2 separate regions of the Homo sapiens genome follow, and region 1 is linked to region 2. The links are contacts of gene promoters, found by promoter capture Hi-C in blood cells and fetal thymus (Javierre and others, 2016). All regions are on one chromosome and are shown on one strand. Each heading gives the region's core, a stretch centred on a gene start or on the middle of the fragment in contact. The rest is flanking DNA. Distances are from core to core; before and after follow the strand shown.

Region 1 (4,938 bases), core at 962-3,461, 2.0 Mb after region 2:
TGCCATGTGCCCTCCAGCCCAAGGGCGGAGAAATGCTCACAGTGGTGGGGCGGGGGAGTGGTGGAGACCCTCAGTTCCTAGAAAAATCACAAAAACGACATTCCCTTGAGCTATATTCCTGGTTACTGCAGCATCCTACATTTCCTGATCTTGCCTAATAGGATTACTTCCCTGAACTGTAAAAATTCCCACCACATTGCATACAGAGAGAGGAGACATGGCAGTCGCAGACAGGAAAGGAGGAAATTATGATAAGTAAAGCTGGAGATCCTGTTGCCGATGCCTGATTGAGCAGTTGGAGGCGGGTCAGTCCAGAAGCCTTCAGATAACACCAGGGTGTAGACCTGGCCAGAAATCCTCCAGGACTTATTCCAGCCCCATGCAATGGCTAGGTTTCCATGAAGGGAAATCAGTTCAAAACACAGCCAAAATGCCCAGAATGGAGGCCGACAGCCTTGAAATGAAAGGATGTCCCAGATGGGGCCCCAAAATGAAGCGGCGACATTGTCTGGGATAAATACCCGAGGTTCGTTGTTTCACGCCAAGGGATTCAAGGACATGGACACACAAGTAGAGAGTTTAAGAGCAGAGGTTTAATACGTAAAAGAAAAAGAGAATAGCTCTCTATTCTGCACAGAGAGAGGGGCACCCGAGTGGGTCTTCCAGTTTTGTGATGAAATAAACGGGGTTTTGTAGATGAGCTTGAGGAGGTGGTGTCTGATTTATATAGGAGGAGGTGGTGTCTGATTTACATAGGGCCCAAGAGATTGGTAGAACCAGTTGTTATGTTTGCATGGGGTTCAAGGAAGCTGCCCATCCCACCCTAATCTTTTATTGTGCAGATGGGCTCTCTACCTGGCCAGCGCCATGTTGTCTGTTCCTTACTGTACACGTGGTTCACAAAGGGAAGATGGAGCCACCATGTTGAACATGACTGGCCCCCAGGTAGCCTTTCTCTACTGGCACAGCTGCTGGTATTTACCTATGCAAGATTTTAGCTTGCTTAGTTATGCTTGCAGCTTGATTTTTCAGGCTGCTTTTTGTTAGAAAAGAAATGATTTGGGGGCTGCTTTTACAAAAAGGAAAGCTTACTGAGGACTTTCTTACCCTATCTGCCTAAATAATTTCCAACTCCTGTATCGAAACGACTGTACTTTTTCTACCACATTATCTTTGTGTCCTTGTGAAAAAAAATCAGTTGCCCATAGATGTTGAGTGTATTTCTGGACTTTCCATTACTTTCTACTGCTCTATGTGTCCACATTTATGTAAAAACCAGGTTGTTTTGTATACTAAAGTGTCTTAGTCTGTTTGTGTTGCTATAAAGGAATATCGGAGATGGTAATTTATTTTTTATAAAAAGGTTTATTTGGCTCATGATTCTGCAGGCTATACAAGAAGCATGGTGTCAGTATTTGCTTCTGGTGAGAGCTTCAGGCTGCTTCCACTCATGGCAGAAGGCAAAGGGGAGCCAGCTGTACAGAGATCACATGGCAAGCAAGAAAGCAAGAGAGAGGGGGATTAATCTATTCACATAGGATCTACCTTCATGACCCAAACACCTCCCATTAGGACCCATCTCCAACACTGGAAACCAAATTTCAACATCAGATTTGGAAGGGGTCAAACAAACTATATCCAAACTATAGCATAAAGCTTTGTTAAGTCTTGAATTAGATAAAAATTAAGTATGGGCCCTCTAAAGTTGTACTTTTTCCATTGTTTTGGCTATGCTAAGGTCCTTTACATTTCCATATAAATTTTGAAATCAGCTTGCCCATGTCTACAAAAAAGCCCACTTTTGTGATTCTGATGAATCTATAGATTTTGCAGAGAACTGACTTCTTAGCAATATTGAGTCTTCCAACCCATGAAAAAGTAAATCTTTGTTTTTTAGGTCATCTTTAATTTCTCTCAGCAACATTTTGTACATTTCAGTGTATAGGTTTTTCGTATCTTTTGTCAGTTATTCCTAAATATTTATCTTTTTTGATGCTTTGTAAATGGCATTTTTTCTTATTTTAACTTACAGTTGTTTGTTGCCAATATACAGAAATACAGCTGGGTTCTTGTATATTGATTTTGTATCCTGGAACCTTGTTAAACTCATTAATTAGTTCAAGTAGCTTTTGGTAGTGGGAAACTAATAATTTTCCCTGCCCCAGAATCTTTGTTGTGATAATATAACTTTGCTATTCCTTTGGAGAACCATTTCTTTTCTACTCTTGGTCCATGTGTTTGGGAAGACATTTAACAGAGACTAATTAGCACAGTGATTGGTGTAGAGACAATGGTGTACGTGACCAGTTCATCCAATGAAAGTAAATGCTGGAAGTTATGAGGAAGTCAATGGGAAAACATTGCTTTTTCTAGCTAGTTCAAAGTAGAATGTTACTGATTTCAAATTTAAGTCCATTGTGGTCAGAGAACACACTTTGTATGATTTGAATGCTTTTAAATTTATTGGGATTTGCTTTGTGGCCCACAACAGGTCTATCATAAGTATTATATGTGCACTTGAAAAGACTGTGTATTCTAATCCTGTTATGTGGTAAGTTCTATTAATGTTAATTAAGTCAAGTTGATGGATAGTGTTTTTCAAGCCTACTATTTTTTGCTGACTTTATGCTTACTTTTTCTAACAATTATTGAGAGACATTGAAATCTCTGACTATAATTGTCAACTTACCTATTTTTCCTTGCAGTTCTATCAATTTTCACTTAAGTCATTTTGAAGCTCTTTTATTATTAAGAGCATAAGCTTTTAGGATTATTATATCCATTGATCTTTTATTAAGTTACTGTCTTTATCCCAATTATATTCTTTGTTCTGAATTATCCTTTGTCTGACATTAATATAACCATTCTAGCTTTTTAAAAGTTAATATTAGCATGGCATAACTTCTTTCATTTTTTTAACATTTAACCTGTGTGTCTTTACATTTATGATTCATTTCTTGTAGGCATCATGTAGCTGGGTCTTGGTTTTTTATCCAATCTGACAAGCTCTCCCTTTTATTTGGAGTTTTTGGACCATTCCACTTAATATGATGTATTAGTCTGTTCTTACGCTGCTAATAAAGACATACCCAAGACTGGGTAATTTATAAAGAAAAAGAGGTTTAATGGACTCACAGTTCCACATGGCTGGGGAGGCCTCACAATCATGGTAGAAGGTGAAGGCAAAGGCAAGTCTTAACATGGCAGCAGGCAAGAGTGCCTGTGCAGGAAACTGCCCTTTATAAAACCATCAGATCTCGTGCAGCTGATTCACTATCATGAGAACAGCATGGAAAACCCACCCCCGTGATTCAGTTACCTCCCACCAGGTCCCTGCCATGACACACGAGGATTATGGAAGCTACAATTCAAGATGAGATTTAGGTGGGGACCCAGCCAAGCCATATCATAAGATTACTAATTTTTTCAGTTTGAGTCTATTGTCTGTTTTCTATTTTTGTTGTTGTCTTTGTCTCTATTTGTTATTTCCATTTGTTTTTTGTACCATTTTCCCTTTTTTGAAGTTTTGCAAGTCTGGTGGGAACAGGCACTATTTTTGGCCATTTATAAGCACCAGGCACTGTTTTCTTTAATCCTTTCAGATGGTTCTTTTCCTGACTTCAGGTAGTTTTTGCACGCATGCACTGATCAGCAGCTTGCTGAACACTCCAGAGGGACCCTCTGCAGAGAGTTGCGGTTTACTCTCTATGAAATTCTCTCATCTCTGGTCTTCTGTCTGTTCTAAGAGCTCTAGGTGCTTTGGTTTTCCCACTCTTAACTTTGTCTCCTCAACTCAAGAACTCAAGAACCAAATAAATACAGCCAAATGATTTTTTGACAAAGGTGCAAAGGCAATTCAAGAGAGAAAGGGTAGTCTTTTAAATAATAGTGATGGAACAATTGGACATTCATGTACATAAAAATGAACCTCAACCTATCTCATACTTTATCCAAAAATTAACTCAAAATGGATCATGAATCTAAATATAAAACTATAAAACTTTTAGAAAAAACAATGGAAGAAAACCTTCATAACTGGGGGTTAGGCAAAGAGTTCTCAGTATGACACCAACATCACTATCCATAAAAAAAGATATAGCTTATCAAAATTAAAAATTATAAAAAATGTTAAGGGAATGAAAAGACAAGCTACAAATAAAGTATTTTCAAGTCACATATCTGACAAAGGACCTGTATTCAGAATCTATAATGAACTCTCAAAACTAACAGTAAGAAAACAATTTTGAAATGGTCTAAAGACTTGGAGAGGAAATATAGGTGACTTACCCAAAGAGGATATATGGTTGACAAATAAGCACATGCAAAGATGTTCAACATTAGTGGCTATTAGAGAAATACCACTTAACCCCATGATCAGATACTATTGCACACCTAATAGAATGGTGAAAATAAAGAATACCGACAATAGTAACAGCTATCAACAATGTGAAACAACTGGACCTCTCTGACATTACTGGGAGGAATGCAAAATGATATAGCTATTCTCAAAAATAGTGAATACTATTCAGCAATAAAAGAAAATAAAATGAATTGTAGATATAAACAATAATTTGGATGAATCTCAAAGACATTATGCTAAGTGAAAAAGCCAGTCTCAAAAGGTTACATACTGTATGATTCTATCTATAGGACATTCTCAAGAAGACAAACCAAGAATGTCAGAGAACAGATCAGTGGTTGGCAGGGGTTAGGGGTCGGGGGGATGATGTAACTACAAAGGGGTAGCACAAGGGAATTTTTTAGGATGATGAAATTGCATCCTGATTGTGGTGAAGGTTACCTAAATTTGTACATGTGTTAAAATTCAAAGAACTGTCCATCTTTAAAAAAGTTCATTTTACTCTATTCATTTTAAAAGTTAAGATTTAAAAGAAAACTTTATAGTAAACTAATACTAAATGGTGACATCTAGTTGTC
Region 2 (5,104 bases), core at 2,300-4,799:
TAAGGATTTTTTCCATTTCATATAAATTGTTGAATTTGCTGGCATAAAGTTGTTCATAATCTTTCCTTAGTAACCTTTTAATAACTGGAATGTCATGTCCCTCTCTCATTTCTAATATTGGTAATTTGCATCTGCTCTCTTTTTTCTTGACTTATCTGGCTAGAAGTTTATTGATTTTGAACGTCCTAGTAAACCATCTTTTGGTTTTATTTCTGGGGGAATAAAGTACCATAATCAAGCTTAGTAATCCTTCTTCTTACCTTCCTCCAGGATTTTGACTAGATGGGATTCTTTGTCTAATGAAGTGACCTAAACCTTCATTTCTACAGAATTGAGCCGTTGATAGGCCTGTCTTTACTGGGTTGCTGCAGTTTTCCACTGACTAGGACTGTTAGCACTAAGAGGCATTCCAGTGAATTTCCTCGTTTCCATATATAGCCTATATAGCCTTCTTGTTTCCATTGTAAAACAGAAACACAGTTTTCCTCTGATAACTGGAATTAGCTACCCTGGCCAGTCCATTGAGCTGCTTTTCTGTTACTTTAATGGCATGAGGAACCTCAAAAGGCCAGGGCCAGTCTCGGCTCCTAAATCATCAAAACATGATTATTTTTCCTGAAGGAAGTGTTCTACTCTTGGACTCTAGAATTTCTAAACCCACCAAGCCCAACATTTTGGGAATGGGAAGCAAAAATTATTCACGTAGATTCTTAGGTATACTATTGAACAGAAACACTCCTTCTACCCTTTGGCTCTGAGACCTGTGCATCCTGATAGTGGGGAGACAGCTCCATATATTGACTGCTTATTAAATTAATGTACCACATTCTATAGGACACCACCCTACCTTTTCATGATGTTGCCTCCCAGATATCTCTGTAACCGAGCTCTCATTTTGCCACTCAGCTGTTCTATCAAGCTAGTTACTTTAGGAGATAAGCATGTGTTAAAACCATTGAATTCACTTCCATTGCCATAAACTGTGTACCTGGTTGGAAGAAATGTTTTTGGGATTCCTATGCAATGGATAAAACCTTCAGAAATGTCAAGAATATTAGTGCCAGTGGAAACACTGCAGGCAGAGAATGCAGATTTATACCTTGAATGTGAATTATCTTTGTGAAGACAAAGTGCTACCTATTTCTTATGGAAATTGCCCAATGTAACCATCATGTTACCGGGTTGCCAGCAAGTCTCATTGACAGTAATGCCATATTAGGAACCCAGCCTTGGAAATGTAGTCACACTCCACGTTGTTGCCAGGTTGGGCATTCGGCAATGATAGTAGCCAAATAATGTAGGTAAGGAGAAGACCATACTATTGAACCTCTGTCACTGCTTTGATAGCCACTTGGTACATGGGCCCATTAACCAAGCCCTGGGTTGGCTGGAGAAAAAGACTGACATCTACCAGACAATTCATCTTGTTCCGCTTATTATTGAAAATCTTCTCCACCTGATGCATCCTGTTAGGCACTTATGGGGGATATGAATATCTTCACATGCCCTCACCACTCCAAGAGGGTTATCTGTAAGTCTCACGGACAGATCTTTTACAAATTTTCCATTTTGTTCTTTCCAAGAACCTAAAAGCTGGACAATCCATTAGACACTGCCTGTAAGTCAGTATATTTATCAGTTTGTCATGTCGTCCCCTCCTTTCTTGAATGTGAATAACCAGGTATGTAGCTAGAAATTGCCCACTAGGAAGATTCGCTGTCCCCATTAGCAATGCACGGATCTGAAATTGTCTCACTTCTTTACATATCTGTCTGTCTCCCAGATTAGACTATAAAATCTCCATGAGAACTAGGACTGTGTCTCCTGTTCGCACAATATCCCTAATGTCTAGCACATAGAATATATTCTAAACATATGTGGCGTAAGTGATTGATGCATTTTCTTGAACATTTGGAGAGAAAATGTTAAGCAATTAAACTTGTAACCAATTTAAGATTTTTTTTAGTACATGTGACTGTATTATGAAGAACAATGCAAAATTTGGAGCAATTTACAAGAAGATGGAACAGTTCAAGTAAATTTGCCCATGACACTAGTGACTTCAGGCTCTTTTATGTATGCAACCTAAGTGATGAATAGGGAAGTACGTGTTTATGGAATCTGTCATTGGTGGTATTTCAGTGGGAAAATGTGAAAAGCTCTGATTTTGAAGGGTTGCCAGAGAAAGAGGAACAGGCAGAGGAAACTGAAAGAAGAATTTTTTTTTTTTTTTTTTTTTTTTGAGACGGAGTCTCACTCTGTGGCCCAGGCTGGAGTGCAGTGGCGCGATCTCGGCTCACTGCAAGCTCCGCCTCCCGGGTTCAAGCCATTCTCCTGCCTCACCCTCCCAAGTAGCTGGGACTACAGGCAGCTGCCACCACTCCCGGCTAATTTTTTGTATTTTTTAGTAGAGACGGGGTTTCACCGTGTTAGCCAGGATGGTCTCGATCTCCTGACCTCGTGATTCACCCGCCTCGGCCTCCCAACAGGCCTGAAAGAATTTTAACAAGCAGGATGAGCATAAAGGCAAAGTGGGGTTGTCAACATCAAGGAAACAGAGTGTTGGGAAACAATGGTCGACTTTGTCAATCGCCAAAGAGACTCCCAGGAAAAATGAGGGCAACAAAAGTATCAGTTGGATTTAGGAGGCCACTGCTTACCCAAAGAGTTCAGGTAGAATTGTTGGGAGGTGCAGTGGTTGGAGAATCAACTCCGTGAATAATGAATTGTGTTGACACGGTACATAATACGGTATTTCTGACTACATTGGCGGCATTTCACTAAGTAATTACTACCTGAAGTGCCTACCTTCAGTAAGGCATCCTGTTGTTGGATGGGGAAAGAGAAGGAGGAAATAACTCTTAGCTTTACCTGTACTGTGCTTCTGAGACCCAGGTATGGACCTTCACTCCCAATTTACTATCCATGGTCTCATCCGATGTTCAGTAACTGGGTTCTCCTTTGGCAGGGAGTAGGGATTGCCTGAGAATTAAAAGGGGAGGGGAGATTTCTGAACTGGACCTCTTAGGTTATGACTAGATTGGGTGCCTGAGGCAGCAATGGGGCTTTATAAGGCTTCTTTACGCTTCATTTAACTAATTGCTTTTTTGTTCTCTCTTATTCAGTGGAGTTCCAATCTGTTCGGTTGTGGAGAACGAACCTGAGAAAAAGGATCTTTCGCAGGGTAGTTTTTGGGGGCAGAGGCTGATGTGCTGCACCCCCTAATCAGGGGTATGGTTGGCTGCAGTAGTCAAGTGAGAGGGCCGCAAAGGGAAAGGAAAAGTCGAGACTATCTTAGGGAACCAGGAGAGTCGCTGTACCTCTGAAAGATCTACGGTTTGTCTGGTCTGTAAGGAGCAAACACGGTGGAATTCCTTTCCAGATTTTTCTGGGCCTCGACCTCTGGCTTTTGGGGTACATGCCAAAAAAAAAAAAAAAAAAAAAAGCGCAGGGAGAGTCCACTAGCCTCGGTGACAGTTCCCCATTGCGGTTTCCCCTCCTCCACCCTTCTTTGCGAGCTCCTTCCCTCTGCAGAGAGTTATCCCGCCACATTAACCCCTGACTCACAGCTGGACCGCCCCGGCCCGCAGCGCCACGTCCCGGGTGGGGCCTGCCACGGCAAAGCAGCAGTCCGGCCTCGAGCGGCCCCTCGGGGGCGGCGGGGTGGGCGCCAACAGCAGTCAGGCCTGACAAGCGGCGACCTCCAAGGGTGAGGCCTCTGCGGGCCCCCGACTCACGCGCGTCCGGGCTCTGCAAGCGCGGTGGGGAGCAGGCTGCTGTGGTCGCGGGGACTGGGTTGCGGCGCGCCGCGTACGGGACGGCCCCAAACTCTCGACGCCCGGGGCAAGACGCCCACCCCCTGGGCGCTCTCGCTGGGCCAGAAAGGAAGACAGAAAAGCCGCGGGCTGACTGTGGTGGCGCTCGCCTGCAGGCAAGTACCGGGCGCTAGGGCGGGGGCCGCCGCCGGGGGCGCGGGGTGGGCTGGGGCCAGGCCGCCAGGGGCGCGGGGTGGTCTGGGGGCCAGGCCGCCTGCGCTACCTCCCCAGCCTACCCGACCCGACGGCGCGGGTGCTGGCGCTGTTGTCCCCAGCGGGGCGGGCAGGCCTTTCCGTCACTTGGCTTACTCTGAAGGGAAAATCCACACAGCTGTCTGCCTTTTTGTTTCATTTTGACTAGAAAACCCATTTTCGAAAAGACACCTCAGAACCATAAGCAAATAGCCCAGAGTCTTAAATGCTCTAAAGGCTCTGCATGAGCCCCTGCCAGGCACACAGAGCCAGTGCTGGAGGTTTTGGCATGGGTTTTCCTACTTGGCTTTTTGTGCAAAGCTAATTTGGATAAAAATAATTTGACTGGCAGCTGTGAGCTAGTTTTCAGTGTATTAGGACCTCTCCAGCTTTCCACGGTAGTAAACTTCTTAAAGAAAGTATTTTAAAATATTCTCATATTTATTATTATTTTTTAATTTATCCTTTTAATTTTGAAAAGCAAGGGTGGGAAAGGCTATATGATCTGGAGGTAAAAATACACCATTATATAGAGTTGAAGTGTCATCCCCTGAACCCACATTGCACGTCTACACAGGAGAAGAACTTGTCCTTCTCCAAGTGTTTAGTATTCCTTAGATTAGTGTTTTTCAAACAAGCCTGATGGTAAGACGCATTTGGGACTTTTGTTTAAAATGCATCCCCCCACCTCTGAAGGTTTAATTTGGTAAGCTTGATTTCCAGAATCTGTATTTCTATTTTTTTATTGTTTAATTTAATTTTATGTTCTGGGATACATGTGCAGGACTTGCAGGTTTGTTACATAGATAAACGTGTGCCATGGTGGTTTGCTGCACCTATCAGCCCATCAATCCTTACATTTTAATATTTTGAAGTAGTAGGATGGTTATAAATGGAGTTAAGCAACTCCACTTTATATCTCATTCAAATCAGAAAATAGATAAGCAGGTATAGAATATTGACACCTACATTTGAAGCAAAGTAAATGTGACATGTACGCCTTACCGTATGGAACTTGAAGTATAAACCATGTTTACACTGTTGAATCATGGGCATCTGTGTTGAGTCATTTGTTCCTTATGCTATTCTTAAAATGT

The links. The method cuts DNA at HindIII sites, captures the fragments that hold promoters and counts their contacts. A CHiCAGO score of 5 or more calls a contact.
Region 1: a contact is called between a fragment that was not itself captured here and the fragment with the promoter of TICAM2 in region 2, in 6 of 17 cell types (total CD4 T cells, non-activated CD4 T cells, activated CD4 T cells and 3 more). The highest score is 13.7, in total CD4 T cells.

Annotation. Positions count from the first base shown.
Region 1 is chr5:113,601,772-113,606,709 of GRCh38, reverse strand. No RefSeq gene overlaps it. Among named protein-coding and RNA genes, the nearest start is that of YTHDC2, 91 kb to the right of the region's middle. The HindIII fragment of the contact is 1,105 bases long and covers 1,659-2,763 here.
Region 2 is chr5:115,600,924-115,606,027 of GRCh38, reverse strand. TICAM2 (TIR domain containing adaptor molecule 2) reads left to right here and starts at 3,549. Exons shown (of 2, transcript NM_021649.7): 1 at 3,549-3,931. The region is part of intron 3 of TMED7-TICAM2 (TMED7-TICAM2 readthrough); the gene reads left to right. TICAM2-AS1 (TICAM2 antisense RNA 1) reads right to left here and starts at 3,873. Exons shown (of 3, transcript NR_109875.1): 1 at 3,568-3,873; 2 at 2,872-2,982. RefSeq lists a silencer at 3,558-4,057 and enhancers at 3,677-4,199, 4,148-4,227. The HindIII fragment of the contact is 4,479 bases long and covers 242-4,720 here.